5 separate regions of the Homo sapiens genome follow, and regions 2, 3, 4 and 5 are each linked to region 1. Evidence: promoter capture Hi-C in 16 types of primary human blood cells and fetal thymus (Javierre and others, 2016). All regions are on one chromosome and are shown on one strand. The core of a region is centred on a gene start or on the middle of the fragment in contact, and the rest is flanking DNA. Distances in the headings are between cores, read along the strand shown.

Region 1 (3,259 bases), core at 1-2,500:
ATTTGGCCCAGTTTCCCCCTGCATCCTCTCCAGGGCCCCTGCCTCATAGACAACCTCATAGAGCATAGGAGAACTGGTTGCCCTGGGGGCAGGGGGACTGTCTGGATGGCAGGGGTCCTCAGAGATGCCACTGTCACTGCCAGGAGATGCTTCTGAGCAGTACACCTCATTGGGATCAATGAAAAGCTTCAAGAAATCTTCAGGCTCACTCTCTTGAAGGCCCTACAGTAGGAAAAGGTTATATATATGTGCAGGGAAGAATTTTGGAAGTCCTCCCTGACTTATGCTTCATTTTCAGTCCTTTCACTTCTTGGGCATGGAGACAGTTATTATACAACTTACGTCTATTTTGGGGGTGGTCTGTTTTCAGACCTGTCTCCAAGTGGGAGCTGAAGCCTCTTATCACAGAGTTGTGTCTCAACCCCACCCCCACTCCCACTCGTCACACTCACACAGCCACGGTCCCCACCGGACTTCCAGCCTTGCAGTCCCTGTTCCTGTAGCCTAGTTACCGGAACCTCTGGAGGGGGGCAGTGGAGTCCCAGCTCCAGGACGGATCCTGTCGAGAAGATATCCTCTGGGGGCTCCAGCCACGCGTCCAGCAGGTCAGGGATTCCGAGATCCATGCTTCTGCAGGAAGGCGTGTGGGACGGAGGGTTGCAGAAACGGAATGATGGCTGCTTACTACCCCCTACAGTTTCTGGGCTCCTCTGCTCCCTTTTCCATTATCCCCGCCCCCCCACTCCTTCCTCACTAGCAAGCCCCCTCACCTGTCCCCTCGATATTTCACCTTCAGCCCTATCCCTCAGGTTTAGACAAAGAGGCCCCCCCCAAGCATTACCTGTTCTGAAGAGCCCAGCCCTGTCAAGCCAGCATAGCCCGTTGACCTCCCCAAACACTACACCTTTTCTTTCTTCCAGGATCTCGTATCCTGGACCTGCCAGCCAAACCCCGCCCCCAGCCTTACACTACAAAAGTGGATGCCACCTTGCCAGGAGCCACGGTAGGGCCGCTGTATCTGGGAGTAGGGGACTAAGAGTCTGAGGGTCCACAAACGGAATTTAAGAAGTAGGTAGCCGCGCCCTTTCTGCTGCAGTTTTCTCTTAGCTATAGTAAATCTTCCTGAGGGTTTGGTGTCTCCTAGCTGAAGAACAGAAAAGGCTGTGACTGGAGCACAGGACTCCTGAATGCCTGTTCTGTAGCCCTCGCTTTTGCAAGAGGGAGATCATGGCAGGGTTGTAAACAAAGGCGGAAAGAGTCAAGAGACCTGCGAATTTACTAGGGCATCCCCTCGCCCACCGCGTGGCGCTCTTCCCAAAGCTGAGTCCTGATTGGAAGCTGAAGACTTAGGTTTCGGAGGGGCAGGACATCGAGCCAATGGCACACTACCCTCTCAAGGCCGCCTCTTCCGTAACTGGTCGGAGACAGTTTGGCTGTTCAGGAGAGTCAGGCCAATGGGGCCGCAGTTCTTTCTTTTTTTTTTCTTTATTCTTATTTTTGGAGACAGGGTCTCGCTCTGTTGCCCAGGCTGGAGTGCGGTGGTGCGATCACGGTTCCATGCAGCCCCCGACCTCCCGGGCTCAGGTGATTCTCCCGCCTCAGCACCGCGAGCAGCTAGGACCACAGGCGCGAGCCACTGCGTCCGGCCGGCGGGACTTATTTGTCAGGCGGGGATTGGGTTCCGCCAGCCTAAAGGGAGGGGTAAGCGCCAGAATATGAATCGCCGGGAAGCTGGGAGAAAGCTCCGGGAAACCCTGAGCAGCCAGGTTTGTCTTCGCGCGCCACGTGACTCGGAAGCTCCGGTTTCACCCAGGCGGGGAGTCAACAGCCCGCTGACCCCAGTGGAGCGGTGATCCTCGCTCGGCAGGCGGCAGGAGCGCGATGGCGGGTTTCCCCGTCCGCAAGCCGAGCAGTGTGGCGTTAATGGAGAACAGCAGCTGTGCGCACACGCTCGCTGCACGCTGCTCATTCACGGAGGGACACGGGGCAGGAAAACTGCAACAAGTTAAAAAGCCTTTTGCGTTTGTTGTCTTATTGTTTGCATACAGTTACCGGGAACATTATGTCCCACACTTGTATAATTTACAAAACGTTTTCATAAAAATTGTTCTCTTCCTTAATCCATAACAGTTCTGAGGCACACACGGCGGGTAATATTTTGCAAATTTTACCTATGAGGAGGCAGATCCATGACTAGAAAGTAGTAATACCAAAACTCAGGGTTGATTGATTATTTTTATTTTTTTGCCTTGGTCTAATGTCTGATGGTCCAGGAATTCACTTCAAGTAAAACAATGGAGGTAAACTGATACAGGTATGGTTTTCAGTAGTATTTCAGAAAAGGGTAGCTGGGTGAGTAAAACAGTAGTTTGGAGTGTGAATCCCAGAACTCAAACTGCTACTAATTATCCTTATGAAGATTTGAACGGGCTAAGGGTAAAAACGGGAACAGGGTCTAGTCAGGCATTTCCATGTTACTCATATAATTCTTACAGCAGATGGAGCTGACAAGTTTGTTTGTTTGTTTTTCTTTTGCTCTGTGGCCCAGGCTGGAGTGCAGAGGCTCGATCTCGGCTCACTGCAAGCTCCGCCTCCCGGGTTCACGCCATTCTCCTGCCTCAGCCTCCCTAGTAGCTGGGACTACAGGCGCCCAGCTAATTTTTTTGTATTTTTAGTAGAGACAGGGTTTCACCGTGTTAGCCAGGGTGGTCTCGATCTGACCTCGTGATCCGTCCACCTCGGCCTCCCAATGTGCTGGGATTACAGGCGTGAGCCACCACGCCCGTCCGAGCTGACAAGTTTAAGTAACTTTCTCAAGGTTACCCTGTAAGTAGCTGAACCAAGATTTGGATGCTTCAGCCCATGTTCTTCACACTATCAACCCACCTTGTGGGGCTTTCTCAGATTTCTTATCTGTCTTTCCCGCTCATATCTCTCCATCCTGCTCAAGTAGTGAAGAGACAAAGCAGCCTTCCTAGATTGATGCAGAGCTCCAAGGAAAGCAAAGCTGTTCTTGTTGAGATCATTCTGAGAGCGAGAAAGGTGGTTAAATACATTTCAAAGGGCTTCCTGCGGGCTGTATGTGCAGAGATGATTTGAGTGGGGAATGTAGTTAGCTTCCGTTGATGTTAGAACTGGAAGGACCCTCTGCAGTCATCTGCTTGTTTAACTTCCTCCTTGCCCCTGATTTATCAAACTCTGGTGAGGAAAACTGACTTGCCTAAAATCATACATCAAGGTAAGGTAAAATTGAGGAGAT
Region 2 (3,259 bases), core at 217-2,716, 430 kb after region 1:
TCCACCTGGGTCCACAAAAGATGAAGGAGAGCAGCATCGATGACTTGATGAAGAGCCTGGACAAGAACAGCGACCAGGAGATCGACTTCAAGGAGTACTCGGTGTTCCTGACCATGCTGTGCATGGCCTACAACGACTTCTTTCTAGAGGACAACAAGTGACCAGGGCTGCCCTCCACCCTCACCCTCCACCCTTTGCTGCTGACCTCGGCTGCTCCTCTCACAGACCCTCTTTGGCCCCCTGCCCTCCTCTCCCTCCCAGATGGACCCTTCCATGGGAGGAAATAAAGTTTCCATCGCAGGTGCTGGGAGTCTGGTTTTGAAGCTGTCTTGTCTACCTTGGCCTGGGGAGAGGGGAGCACAGGAAGGGTCTCTCCTTGAGTGGGTTGAGACAGCTTCTGCCTCTGGGGGTTAGGGTCCTGGGCTCCCACTGCATTCCTCTCCTTCTTTGGTGTGGACGTCATTGGTTTTGTCATGGCTTAGTTTTGCCTGCCTGGAAAATGGGGAAGTTAGGCCAGGCGGGAACTCTGCAAGGATGCAGAGGAAGTTAAGAGGGAAAGTTGCTTTGAGAGGAGGACACTGGGAGGGGTTGGGAGTGGCTCCTGAGGGCGGTGATAGGCAGGCAGGCCTGACTTGTCCACAGCTCACCGGAGGCCACCTTGGCAGCACCTGTAGGAAGGGCATGTCTGGCCTCCACACCAGCCCCCTCCCTCTTCACCATTTCCCCTTCAATAGCACCACTCTCATCATCTATGGGGGACAGTGCTTTCTTCTCTCCCTGCCTCCTCCATCAAAATCTTTTCTCAGGGGAGGGTCTGAAAAGGCCTTCACTCCCCCGTAAATAACGAATGGTGCTTACAGGGCTGGGCTCCCACGTGCATGCACATTAACACCAAAGGTGCTGTAGTGAATGGAATTTGGGGCACTGAGGGGAAGGAGTGGAGGTGTTGGTAGGAACTTGTTGCTGGTGGGGGATGGGCGCCGTAGATATCCTTTACACCACTGGCTACTCCCCCTATCTCCTCTGGGGTGACCCTGAGTATCCTCTGTGGGACACCGGCATCCTGTGAGGCGCCCTCCTTGCCCACATTGACGCTGCGCTGGCTCGAGGGTCACATTCACGGTCTGGCAGAGGAAGCAGGGGTGACCGCCGCAGTCCTCCTCCTGCTCCCCTTGCCGAGTCACGTGTCACGAAGAGCAAACTGAGCAAACTGAGCTGCGCAGATGAGGGGAGACTCGTCACCAGGCGTGCAGTGGGCACTGCTGGGCTCCCCCATCCCGTCCTAACCCGGAACAGCCCCGGGCAGGAGGCGTGGAAAGTCGAGGGGGTAAACCGCGAATGTGCGTTGTGTAAGCCACGGCGCAGGGTGGGGCGCGGGCGGGACTTGGGCGGGCGGGGTGGGCTTGGCCGAGCTGGCCTCCGGGGCACCGACCGCTATAAGGCCAGTCGGACTGCGACACAGCCCATCCCCTCGACCGCTCGCGTCGCATTTGGCCGCCTCCCTACCGGTGAGTTCTCTCCAGGAGCCCTGGGTACTTTCCAGGGCCAGCTGCCCTCACGCTGGGGGTCCAGCCATCCCCTGCCCAGTTCAGCCGCTGGATCCAGACTGGGGCCATCTGTGGCGCTCCCCCGCTGGAGGGATAGTCAGGAGCAGCAGTGCTGTGCCAGGCAGGCCTTGGGCTAAGGGATCGCAATGGGGTGTGCTCTTTTGGGGTGCGGAAGGGAGTGCCCTGGGTGTGTCATTGCCACCATGTGTGGCCCTGTGAAGCTGTGTTTAAGCTGCCTTTGCAGCCTCCATTCCCCTCCCCTGCCCAGCCATACTCCTCAACTTCTGGATCCCCTGAAGGACAGTTCTCAGCTGTGCCCAAAGCTACTGTTCCTATATGCTTCTTAGAATCCTTAAGCCACCTCTCTTGCCTTGGCCCTAGTGTGCTCTCTCCTTCCCCTTCAAGCCCTGGGCTGTCTCCTGATGCCATTGTGTGTGGCCTGAGACTGGGTGGTTCCAAAGGAGGCGGGGCTAGTGCAGGCAGCATTATTGGGGTGTGTGGGTGAGAAGTCCTTGCTCCCATGGCACTGACTAGGCCCTCTGCTGCCAGCTCCAAGCCCAGCCCTCAGCCATGGCATGCCCCCTGGATCAGGCCATTGGCCTCCTCGTGGCCATCTTCCACAAGTACTCCGGCAGGGAGGGTGACAAGCACACCCTGAGCAAGAAGGAGCTGAAGGAGCTGATCCAGAAGGAGCTCACCATTGGCTCGGTGAGTGGCCTCCTCCCCAGGACCCCTTTTCCCACCCTTGTCCTTTGGAAGCAGGATTAGGGGAGAGAGAGGTGCCAGGTGCATCTGACTCACATTTACCCACATTCTGAGGCCCTGGTCCACATGTAGACCCTGAGCTGTAGACCCACTCTCCCAGCGGGTAGGGGATGCTTCCAGCCGGATATCCATCTCTCCAAATGAGGACCAGTAACTGAGAAGTAGCTGAGGAGAAGCAATGCCAAAGTGACATGGGTCCTTGGTGATGAGGGAGCACAGAGCCACTTGCAGAGAGGATTGCCTGGGAGGGGGAAGGGGAAGAATCCAGGGTTGTCATCACCACTGAGTATGGATTTCACATTCTAACACATTAGAAGCTGCAGGATGCTGAAATTGCAAGGCTGATGGAAGACTTGGACCGGAACAAGGACCAGGAGGTGAACTTCCAGGAGTATGTCACCTTCCTGGGGGCCTTGGCTTTGATCTACAATGAAGCCCTCAAGGGCTGAAAATAAATAGGGAAGATGGAGACACCCTCTGGGGGTCCTCTCTGAGTCAAATCCAGTGGTGGGTAATTGTACAATAAATTTTTTTTGGTCAAATTTACCCTTGCGTCCTGGCTTCCGAATGATTTCTGTTCCTCCTTGGCTTAGTGGGACACCAGCCATTGGAAGATTTGCTCACGGTCAACCTCTGAAAATGACTCATTGACTCGCCAGGCCAGAGGACCCACCCTGACAAGGCTGCCTCTAGCACATAAGGTGCCTTTATGTGAATGAGGAGAGATGCCCCTCTTGGCAACGCCATCCTAAGGAAAGGCTCAAGTGGTTTCCAGTAGAGAGAGTCCTGGGATGAGCTTGGAGATGGAAATGGTCCCTGGGCCGGGATGTGATGGGGTTTGGGGGCCTGGAAGTGAGGCAGAGATAGTCCCAGAGGCTCCCAGATGTGTTTTGCTCTGGGTGTGGCAAGAGGGGCCCTGGGGTGGGGCAAGTCCCCTTTCTCATCAC
Region 3 (3,259 bases), core at 537-3,036, 350 kb after region 1:
AGAGTGTGAAGCTGGAGAGGCCTGTCCGGGGGCACTGAGAACTCCCTCTGGAATTCTTGGGGGGTGTTGGGGAGAGACTGTGGGCCTGGAGATAAAACTTGTCTCCTCTACCACCACCCTGTACCCTAGCCTGCACCTGTCCTCATCTCTGCAAAGTTCAGCTTCCTTCCCCAGGTCTCTGTGCACTCTGTCTTGGATGCTCTGGGGAGCTCATGGGTGGAGGAGTCTCCACCAGAGGGAGGCTCAGGGGACTGGTTGGGCCAGGGATGAATATTTGAGGGATAAAAATTGTGTAAGAGCCAAAGAATTGGTAGTAGGGGGAGAACAGAGAGGAGCTGGGCTATGGGAAATGATTTGAATAATGGAGCTGGGAATATGGCTGGATATCTGGTACTAAAAAAGGGTCTTTAAGAACCTACTTCCTAATCTCTTCCCCAATCCAAACCATAGCTGTCTGTCCAGTGCTCTCTTCCTGCCTCCAGCTCTGCCCCAGGCTCCTCCTAGACTCTGTCCCTGGGCTAGGGCAGGGGAGGAGGGAGAGCAGGGTTGGGGGAGAGGCTGAGGAGAGTGTGACATGTGGGGAGAGGACCAGCTGGGTGCTTGGGCATTGACAGAATGATGGTTGTTTTGTATCATTTGATTAATAAAAAAAAATGAAAAAAGTGAAACATGTTGTCTTGACTGGACACCCCCTCCCTGAGGGTCCACGGGTGAGAGGAGCTTGGGGGTGAAAGGCAAAGTCATTGGTAGGGTGGGGCACGTGGGGCTGGAGTGGTTGGCTGTGGAAGTGAATGGGGACTCACTTTTCCCTATGGGTTTGGGTTGAGGGTGGTACCAGGTCCAAAAGGGCAACATGGTCCTCTCTGAGGGACAGGCTCCTCTTTGCCAATGGGCGGGCCCTCTTATAGGAGAGGAGGGTATGTGTGCACACTTGGGGAAAAGGATATTAGTCCAGGTGTTCTGAGCCCTGGCTGGCACAACCAGGGAAATGGGGTGGGTGGGGGTGGGGGGCGGTTAGAAACAGGCTGACTGGCCTGAGTTTGAATCTCAGATCTGCCACTTATCATTGGAATTTTGGGCATGCTCTTAGTATCAGTTTCCTCATCTGTAAAATGGGGGATATGAATATTACTTCCACAGGATTGCCAGGAGGACAATGCCACACATCATGTAAAGCACTTACAGAGAGCCTGACACATGGTGAGTGCCCAGTGACCCAATATCATTCCCGCTGGAGTGGGCAAGTGGGCCCCTCTTTGGTTTCAGCTGCTGCCCTAGTGTAGGGAGGTCGAGCTGGCCAGTTTCCTTGGGTATCTTAGGGAAACGGTGGGGTGTGGGGAGTTTCCAGAGGAGTCTTCTGGTGTACATGAGGGATCTTAGGGCTGGGTCTCAGTAGAGCTGATGGGTCAGACTAGAGACAGAAGACCAGGGAGCCAGACAGGTCCCTGGCATCTGCCTTCTGATTTGAGCACAGAAGTCGGGCGTTACTCCTGAAACCCCAGTGGCAAGGAGGTTTCTGTGGCCAGTTAGGCTGGCCTGGAATGTTAACTGAACTTGTCTGTTGGGAGCCCCTGAAACTGGGATCCCAGTGACCCAGGTGAGAAAGGCAGGTGATAGTCCTTCCCTTCCTTTCTCTACCCTGTCAGGTTCTGCTCAGCCCCTGCGGGGCTGGGAGGGTGGGGTTGGGGGAGTGCCAGTTTTCACCACTCCCTCTGGGATGGGGGTAGAGGGGTGTGAAAAAAGGTGTGTATCCCTTTAACAAGGGCCCAACCCCAGGGCCAAGTCAAGAAGGAGCTCAGCCACTATCTCCCCACCGAGCCAGCTCAGCGGGCAGGGCTGGGAGGGAGTGGGACAGATTCTGGGAGTGCAGCGGGGAGGAGTCCCGGCTGGGCTGAGCGCAGGGAGCTGCTTGGCAGTGCCAGAGCCCAGGCCCCAGAGCCCTGCTGGAGAGGAGGCAGACTGAGGCAGCAGGTGAGCACCCTGGGCCCGGCCTGGGAGGTCTTCGGCTGCCGGAGGGCCCCACAGTATTGGGAGGCCAGGAGAAGGGGCAGTGAAGGGGGCCTGGGGAGAGGGGCCTGCCAGAGAGCAGGCAGGAAGATTTTGGTAATTATTAACTTTCTCCCACAGGCCAGTTTAGGAATGGGGAGTCCTGGGGGGTTGGGGGCTGGGTGAGGCCTTTAGAGGGATGGATGGGATGGTGAGACCCCCTCCCTGCCGCAGCAGCTGACGGAGCTCCTCTCCAGGGGCAGAGTATTTGGAAGCTTTGACCACAGCTACTCGATCCTCCCCAAAAGGAGAGGACAAATGCGTGTTGGTCTGGGTTGGGGGTGGTCAGAGCTTGGACACAGGCCTTGCTGGGCTCTGGGAGCTGTGTCCTAGGGGAGGTGATGGGGTCCAGAAGGAACCAGGCAGTTTCCAGGGAGCCTGAGATTCCGAGAAGAGGAGGCGGGGGCTGAGGTGGCGTCCCCTCTACCTCACGACCCAAGCAGACCCCACTGTGTTCCAGGAGCTGTTCCTTGAGAGGGATGATGAGATCTGGGAGGAACCCGAGTGAGGCTGTGGGGAGCCTGCAAGCTCCCTGGGAGAGGGAAAGATAGAGAGAGGGGGGCTGAACCTCGGCAGCTCCTCCACCTCAGGACCCAGGCAGGCCCCGGCTTGAGCTGCTTTTCTTGGCAGAGCCACCTGCACTATGGGAGCCTTCCCCTGCCCAGCCCAGTGGGGATGGTGGTGAGGGCAGGGGTGCTGGGGAGCTGGCTCTGCCTTTCCCCACATTCTAGTAAGTGTTGTTGAGGCTGGGGTAGCTGTGTGTGTGTTGGGGGAGGCGGGGGCAAGATCCACACTGAACTCCTCCAACTTCACTTGCCTGGAAAAATTTCAGAGGCTGGCTTCTTGCTCCAAGAACTGAAGTGAGTGGAAGGGTGATGGGTCACCCAAGCAGAGGGGATCAGGAATGGCCGAGGTCCTTGCTCGGTGTGTGTGTGTGTGTGTGTGTGTGTGTGTGTGTGAGAGAGAGACAAAGAGAGTTAGACGCAGAATCCTGTGAGGATGGTAAGGGGTGAGGCAGGGCCAAGCAGGCCCCACTATGCTCCGGGAGCTGTTCCTGGAGAGGGCCTTGTGGAATTGGAGAAAGAACACAGGAAGGAGCAGAGAATGGAACAGCTGAGGCTGGAGAAATTTCATTTGAAACAGCCTTGCTGATAGAGGTGGCATTGTCAGCCCAGTTCGGATGGCACCTTCCCTATATATTGAAGTTAGAGAG
Region 4 (3,259 bases), core at 259-2,758, 310 kb after region 1:
TCTCTAGAAAAAATACAAAAATTAGCTGGACATGGTGGTGCATGCCTGTAGTCCCAGCTACTTGGGAGGCTGAGGTGGATGGATCGCTTGAGCCTGGGAGGTAGAGGCTGCAGTGAGCCTTTATCATGCCACTGCACTCCATCCTGGGTGATAGACCTTGTATCATAAAAATAAATAGCCAGGTGTGGTGGTTCACTCCTGTAGTCTCAGCACTTCGGGTGGCCAAGGTGGGAAGCTCACTTGAGCCCAGGAGTTCCAGACCAGCCTGGGCAACATGGAGAAACCCTACTTCTACAAAAAAATACAAAAATTAGCTGGGCGTTGTGCACGCTTGTAGTCCTAGTTACTCGGGAGGCGGAGGCAGAATTGCTTGAGCCCAGGGGGCGGAGGTTGCAGCGAGCTGAGATTGAGCCACCGCACTCCAGCCTGGGTGACAGAGGGAGACTGTCACACACACACACACAAGAATGTAAATGGCAGCAACTGAATAGTGAGAATGAGACGAATTTTCCTAGGTATTTTTCAAGTACTGGGAGAAGTGAATTTCCCTTTCCCCAAAGAATTTTAAAATTACAGTGGCTTTCACTGTGTTGAGGACTTACAAAAAAGGGCAAAGAATCACTGTTGGTAAGATATTCTTTTACCTGAGCATTCTGTAGAATGTTGTTAACCAAGACAACGCGTCGCCGGGCATTAAGTAGCTTCTTAACATAGGGGTCAAGATCCAGGGCCACCTTCTGATCCTCATTTATGCGGCACAGTTCTGGGGATGGAAGTAAGGTGCAGCTAAGATCTAACGGCTTATCTCTTGTTCTGAGGGAAAGCAGGCTGGTAATGGGATGGAAAACACTTGCACCCAAACGGGCCACAGCCATTAGAGATTTAAGACATCCCTGAAAGGAGGAGTCCTTTGGCAGCCCTGATGCCCTGGAAGCAAGTGACAGAAACTCAGCCCAGGGGTTGGCAAAAACCTAAGGTCCTGAAAGTGGGCTGAAGAATTCCGGGTACACAGGGATGCTCACTCACCTGTGGCTAGGTTGTCAATTTGTTCCCGGAGCTCTACCTGGCTCTCTCTGCAAAGAGGTACAAGGCCTACAAGGTCAGGCAGTTACCGGAGCTCAGGAAACGAACTCCCCTACGTATTTACCAAGTACTGAGAGAAGCCGGCCTCCGCTGAACCCTCCACCTGCGGCCTTCCCGCCTGTCCTCCCCGCCTCGAATCAGTTTCCTAAATTTATGCCCACTCCCAGCCAGAACACTTTCTTGGCCCCGCCCCTACAAAGCCAGAGAGACAGGCCCCGCCCCCAACTTCCCTCCCGGGCACCTGACGGCGTGTACGTGAGAGTCGAGCTGCTGCACAGCGGGTCGCAGGAACTCCAGCAGCCCTTCGGCGAAAAGGTCGCGGCCTGTGGGCCCCGCCACCGGGGTCCCTGCCCCCGATACAGCGGCGGAACCAGCCCCCGCCATCACGAATTGTCCTGAAGCCCGAAACCTGCCGCGAGGGCCGCCGGGAACCGGAGCCGCGCCGCACTGCCCCGCCCCGTGAGGGGGCGCCCGGGAAATGCTGTCTCCACCAAGACACCGGGGTTTCTGGGAAATGGAGTCTAGCGCGAACCGGGCGGGGAGGAGGGCCAGGCCGTAGGAGTAGAGGCCTTGTGGCTGGTCTTGAAAATCTCCAAAGTTCAGGTTGTAGAAAGGAACCAGTTTTTGGAGTGGATACTTTTCGTTTTCTTTAAAGGTGAAAATAAACGCGAATACCTGCAGTTGTCCATAGCCTTCCCATGTTAACTTTATGAGATAGCCGGGCATGGTGGCGGGCACCCAGCTACTTGGGAGACTGAGGCAGGAGAACCGCTTGAACCCGGGAGGCGGAGATTGCAGTGAGCCGAGATCGCGCCACTGCACTCCAGTCTGGGCAACAGAGAGACTCCGCCTCAAAAAAAAAAAAAAAAAAAAAAAAAGCAACCCAAACCAAACAAAAACAAACCAAAAACAAAAACACTTTATGAGAAAGCCACATTATATTCATAGTATCGTTTTCTATTTCTAAAGAGTTTATTGTGGTTGGTTGTTTTTAAGACAAGGTCTCTCTCTGTCGCCTAGGCTGGAGTGCAGTGCCACCGTCTTGGCTCACTGTAGCCTTCACCTCCTGGGGTCAAGAGGTCCTCCTGCTTCAGTCTCCCAAGTAGCAGGGACCACAGGTGTTAGCCACCATGCCTGACTAATTTTTCATTTTCTGTAGAGAAGAGGTCTCACTATGTTTGTTGCCCAGACTGGTCTCGAACTCCTGGGCTCAGGTGATCCTCCCAACTCAGCCTCCTAAAGTGCTGGGATTACAGACGTGAGCCACCACGCCTGGTCTATTTCTAAAGAGTATATTTTTAATGGCATTAAATATGTAAAAAACTGCATGTATCCGAATTTCATTCCTTTTTAAGGCTGAATAATATAAACATGCAGGCAGGGCATGGTGGCTCACTCCTGTAATCCCAGCACTTTGGGAGGCTGAGGCGGGAGGATCACCTGAGCCCAGGAGTTCGAGATCAGTCTGGGCAACAAACCTAGTGAGACTCTGTCTCTACAGGAAATAAAAAATTAGCCAGGCGGCCAGGCGCAGTGGCTCACGCCTGTAATCCCAGCACTTTGGGAGGCCGAGGCGGGTGGATCACGAGGTCAGGACATCGAGACCACGGTGAAACCCCATCTCTACTAAAAATACAAACAATTAGCCGGGCGCAGTGGCGGACTCCTGTAGTCCCAGCTACTCGGGAGGCTGAGGCAGGAGAATGGCGTGAACCCGGGAGGCAGAGCTTGCAGTGAGCCCTGATCGCGCCACTGCACTCCAGCCTGGGCGACAGAGCGAGACTCCATCTCAAAAAAAAAAAAAAAAAAAAAAATTAGCCAGGCATGGTGGCTCACAGCTGTGGTCCCCGCTACTTGGGAGGCTGAAGTAGGAGGACCTTGAGCCTAGGAAGTTGAGGCTACAGTGAGCCAAGATCGTGGCACTGCATGCACTTCAGCCTGGGTGACAGGGTGAGACCCTGTCTCAAAAAATAAAAATTAAAAAAAATTTTTTTTTGAGACCGAGTCTTGCTCTGTCACCCAGGCTGGAGTGCAGTGGTGCAATCTCGCTCACTGCAAGCTCCGCCTCCCGGGTTCATGCCATTCTCCTGCTTCAGCCTCCCGAGTAGCTGGGACTACAGGCGCCCACCACCACGCCCGGCTAATTTTTTGTATTTTTAGTAGAGATGGGGTTTCA
Region 5 (3,259 bases), core at 342-2,841, 260 kb before region 1:
AGCATTGTAAACTTAAAAGTTTTTAAAAAAATGCATACCTTGATTTACACATATTTTTGTAAAAAACCTGTACAAATGGAACTTCCAGGACAAACACCAACACTATCAGATTTCTTTCCTTTTTTTTTTTTTGGAAACTTAGTCTCACTTTGTCACCATGCTGGAGTGCAGTGGTGCGATCTCGGCTCACTGCAACCTCCGCCTCCCAGGTTGAAGTGATTCTCCTGCCTCAGCCTCCCAAGCAACTGGGACTACAGGGCACCACCAGGCCCAGCTAATTTTTGCATTTTTAGTAGAGATGGGGTTTCACCATGTTGGCCAGGATGGTCTTGATCACTTGACCTCGTGATCCGCCCGCCATGGCCTCCCAAAGTGCTGGGATTACAGGTGTGAGCCACTGTGCACAGCCTCAGATCTTTATTATCTTACCATCAAACTCAATCATGGCCCTAGTGCTCAGTAACAGCTACCTAATGTCTAATCACTTTCAGAATATGGGCTGAGTATTAGATAATACAAAATTATTAACCTTATCAGGATTGATAATAGTATTATGGTAATGTAAGAGTATCCTCCTTTAAGGGAAGCATGTTGAAGAACTTAAGGGTATCAAGTATTATGTCTACAACTTCCAGATAATTCCAAGTGTCCACTGATGAGTAAACAAAATGCCACATATATGTACAACGGAATATTAGCCTTAAAAAGGAATGAAATTCTGACCCATGCCACAATATGGACGAACCTTGAAACATTACACTAAGTGAAGTAAGTTAGACATACAAGGTCAAATATTACATGATTTCACTTACATGAGATCTCTAAAACAGGCAAATTCATAGAAATAGAAAACAGGGCCGGGGATGGTGGCTCACACCTATAATCCCAGCACTTTCCGAGGCCAAGGAGGGTGGATCACTTGAGGCCAGGAGTTAGAGACCATCCTAGGCAACATGGCAAAACCCTGTCTCTACTAAACATACCAAAATCAGCCAGGTGTGGTGGCACACACCTGTGGCCCTAGCTGCTTGGGAGGCTGAGGTGGGAAAAACGCTTGAGCCCAGGAGGCAGAGGCTGCAGTGAGCCGAGATCTCACCATTGCACTCCAGCCTGGGCAACAGAGCAAGACTCCATCTCAAAAAAAAGAAAAAAGAAAAAAAAAAAAAAGCCAAGTGTGGTGGCGCACACCTGTTGTCCCAGCTACTAAAGAGGCTGAGGTGGGAGGATTGCTTGAACCCAGGTGTCCATGGCTGCAGTGATCATGCTACTGCACTCCAGCCTGGGTGACAGGGCAAGACCCCATCTCTTAATTCATTTGTTTTAAAAAGATTACCTACCCAAGACTTGGTAGTTTGTTGCTGCCTACTCTTCCAACCCAAGCCTATTATACATTACAGTTAGTGGGTCATTTTATGCTCACAGTAAGTTAGAACAACCCTGTAGCTAAATATACACCAGGAACACTCTGGAAGCTAGACTCAAAACAGCTTTTAGAATTTATGCTGCTATCTCAAAACCTGGCAAGTTTCAGGAAACTGTAACCTTTCTCCCTCCTCTGTATGCACATCTGTTGCTGGCACAAGATGGGTCAGGAGAAAGAATTACTATTATCTTCCCAAAGGCGACTTCAGTTTTCTGAAATGATCTCACCCACCCAAATACATCCAATATCCCTGGGAGCTGACTTTGCTTCCCATTGGTTTCACTAGTAGCTAGTTTATTCGTAACATAAACCTATATTCTCCAGCTTATTTTCCTTTTTGATACTGTATAACATCAGCCTTATAGCACTAGACAGAAGATGCTGGAAGGTAAGATAAAATGTGATTTGCGAAAAAACATTCAGACTTTTAAAAAAACATAAATAGCCCCACCTGATTCCCCCCATAAAATCTGGAGACAATTATTCTAGAGTAAACCCAAAACAAATCAAAAGCATATCTTGATTGGCCAGATAGTAAATATTCAAATAAGGTCAACAGTGTAAAATTTAATCCAGGATAACACTTTTGAAGAAAAAACCCACCAATTTAAATTCAATTGTTTTTAAAAGTTTTCCATTATTATTTCCCATTGTCTCAAAGAAATTGACAAACCTCCTGCATTTAGCTGGAGTGACTCTGTAGTATCAGAAAGCTGTTGTATCTGAGGCCAGGTTTCATGGCTCACGCCTGTAATCCTAACATTTTGGAAGGCCGAGGCAGGAGGATTGCCTGAGCTCAGGAGTTCAAGACCACCCTGGGCAACATAGTGAAACACTGTCTCCACTAAAATACAAAAAATTAGCCAGGCATGGTGGTGCATGCCTGTAGTCCCAGCTACTCGGGAAGCTGAGGCATGAGAATTGCTTGAACCCAGGAGGCAGAGTTTGCAGTGAGCCGAGATGTACTCCGGCCTGGGAGACAGAGAGAGACACCGTCTCAAAAAAAAAAAATTAGCTGGGTATGGTGGTGAATGCCTGTAATCCCAGCTACTCTGGAGGCTGAGGCACAGGATCACTTGAACCTGGGAGGTGGAGGCTGCAGAGAGCAGGTTCACGCCACTGCACTCCAGCCTGGGCAACAAGAGCAAGACTCTGACTCAAGAAAAAAAACAAGTTGTTATCTGTAAGGATGAATTTTGATATCTATTCCAACCAAAGAGCCCCAGTATAAGACCCAATAAATGAAAATGATTTCAAAATAATACACTGGGCCAGGTGCGGTGGCTCATGCCCATAATCCCAGCACTTTGGGAGGACGAGGCGGGCAGCTAGCTTGAGTCCAGGAGTTTGAAATCAGCCTGAGCAACATGGAGAAACCCTGGCTCTACTAAAAATGGGAAAATCAGCTGGACATGGTGGCCCATGCCTGTGGTCCCAGCTACTCAGGAGGCTGAAGTAGGAGGATCACCTAAGCCCAGGACGAGGAGGTTGCAGCATGTCAGTGTACTCCAGCCAGGGCCACAGAGTAAGACCCTGGCTCAAAATAATAATAATAATAATAATACACTGCTCATTAAAAAAACAAAATTTCTCTAGTAAGCACTGCAGGAACATTCTGAAGATCAATAAGGCAGTCAGAGGATTACAATTTGGTACAAACATAAGACAAGCATAAAAACAGAATTCTCATGAAGTGGGAAGGAGAAGTGAAAGCGACTTGTCTAAATTCCAGGGCAAGAGATCCTCCAAGATATCCCCTATCATCTCCAGGGATGGTCAGCAGGCTACAAAGCTTGTTTCTCTGCTACCTCAACAGAAGGAAGTTCAGGCAATGAA

What was found. The method cuts DNA at HindIII sites, captures the fragments that hold promoters and counts their contacts. A CHiCAGO score of 5 or more calls a contact.
Region 2: the fragment with the promoter of S100A6 here is called in contact with the fragment with the promoter of CREB3L4 in region 1 in 1 of 17 cell types (M0 macrophages); the score reaches 5.2 in M0 macrophages.
Region 3: the fragment with the promoter of S100A16 here is called in contact with the fragment with the promoter of CREB3L4 in region 1 in 2 of 17 cell types (total B cells and erythroblasts); the score reaches 6.8 in total B cells.
Region 4: the fragment with the promoter of SNAPIN here is called in contact with the fragment with the promoter of CREB3L4 in region 1 in 16 of 17 cell types (total B cells, naive B cells, erythroblasts and 13 more); the score reaches 13.4 in total B cells.
Region 5: a contact is called between a fragment that was not itself captured here and the fragment with the promoter of CREB3L4 in region 1, in 1 of 17 cell types (total B cells). The highest score is 5.9, in total B cells.

The regions. Positions count from the first base shown.
Region 1 is chr1:153,965,893-153,969,151 of GRCh38, reverse strand. CREB3L4 (cAMP responsive element binding protein 3 like 4) reads right to left here and starts at 1,250. Exons shown (of 10, transcript NM_001255978.2): 1 at 988-1,250; 2 at 453-630; 3 at 1-222. The coding sequence starts at 626. It also overlaps a transcript of SLC39A1 not described here. RefSeq lists enhancers at 984-1,103, 1,134-1,243, 1,454-1,673, 1,108-1,964 and a silencer at 992-1,493. The HindIII fragment of the contact is 4,469 bases long and covers 189-3,259 here.
Region 2 is chr1:153,534,198-153,537,456 of GRCh38, reverse strand. S100A6 (S100 calcium binding protein A6) reads left to right here and starts at 1,466. Exons shown (of 3, transcript NM_014624.4): 1 at 1,466-1,508; 2 at 2,097-2,255; 3 at 2,627-2,858. The coding sequence starts at 2,118. The coding sequence ends at 2,761. S100A5 (S100 calcium binding protein A5) reads left to right here. Exons shown (of 3, transcript NM_001394232.1): 3 at 21-310. The coding sequence ends at 161. It overlaps LOC124904423 (a long non-coding RNA gene), which reads right to left. Exons shown (of 2, transcript XR_007066630.1): 2 at 1-2,553. RefSeq lists an enhancer at 841-1,476. The HindIII fragment of the contact is 28,060 bases long and covers 1-3,259 here.
Region 3 is chr1:153,611,664-153,614,922 of GRCh38, reverse strand. S100A16 (S100 calcium binding protein A16) reads left to right here and starts at 1,786. Exons shown (of 3, transcript NM_080388.3): 1 at 1,786-1,971. S100A14 (S100 calcium binding protein A14) reads left to right here. Exons shown (of 4, transcript NM_020672.3): 4 at 1-668. The coding sequence ends at 38. The HindIII fragment of the contact is 6,157 bases long and covers 1-2,263 here.
Region 4 is chr1:153,656,952-153,660,210 of GRCh38, reverse strand. It overlaps SNAPIN (SNAP associated protein), which reads right to left and starts at 1,508. Exons shown (of 4, transcript NM_012437.6): 1 at 1,325-1,508; 2 at 1,027-1,073; 3 at 645-763. The coding sequence starts at 1,467. RefSeq lists an enhancer at 1,663-1,742. The HindIII fragment of the contact is 14,460 bases long and covers 1-3,259 here.
Region 5 is chr1:154,229,197-154,232,455 of GRCh38, reverse strand. All of the region lies in intron 4 of UBAP2L (ubiquitin associated protein 2 like), which reads right to left. Among named protein-coding and RNA genes, the nearest start is that of UBAP2L, 9.9 kb to the right of the region's middle. The HindIII fragment of the contact is 3,253 bases long and covers 1-3,217 here.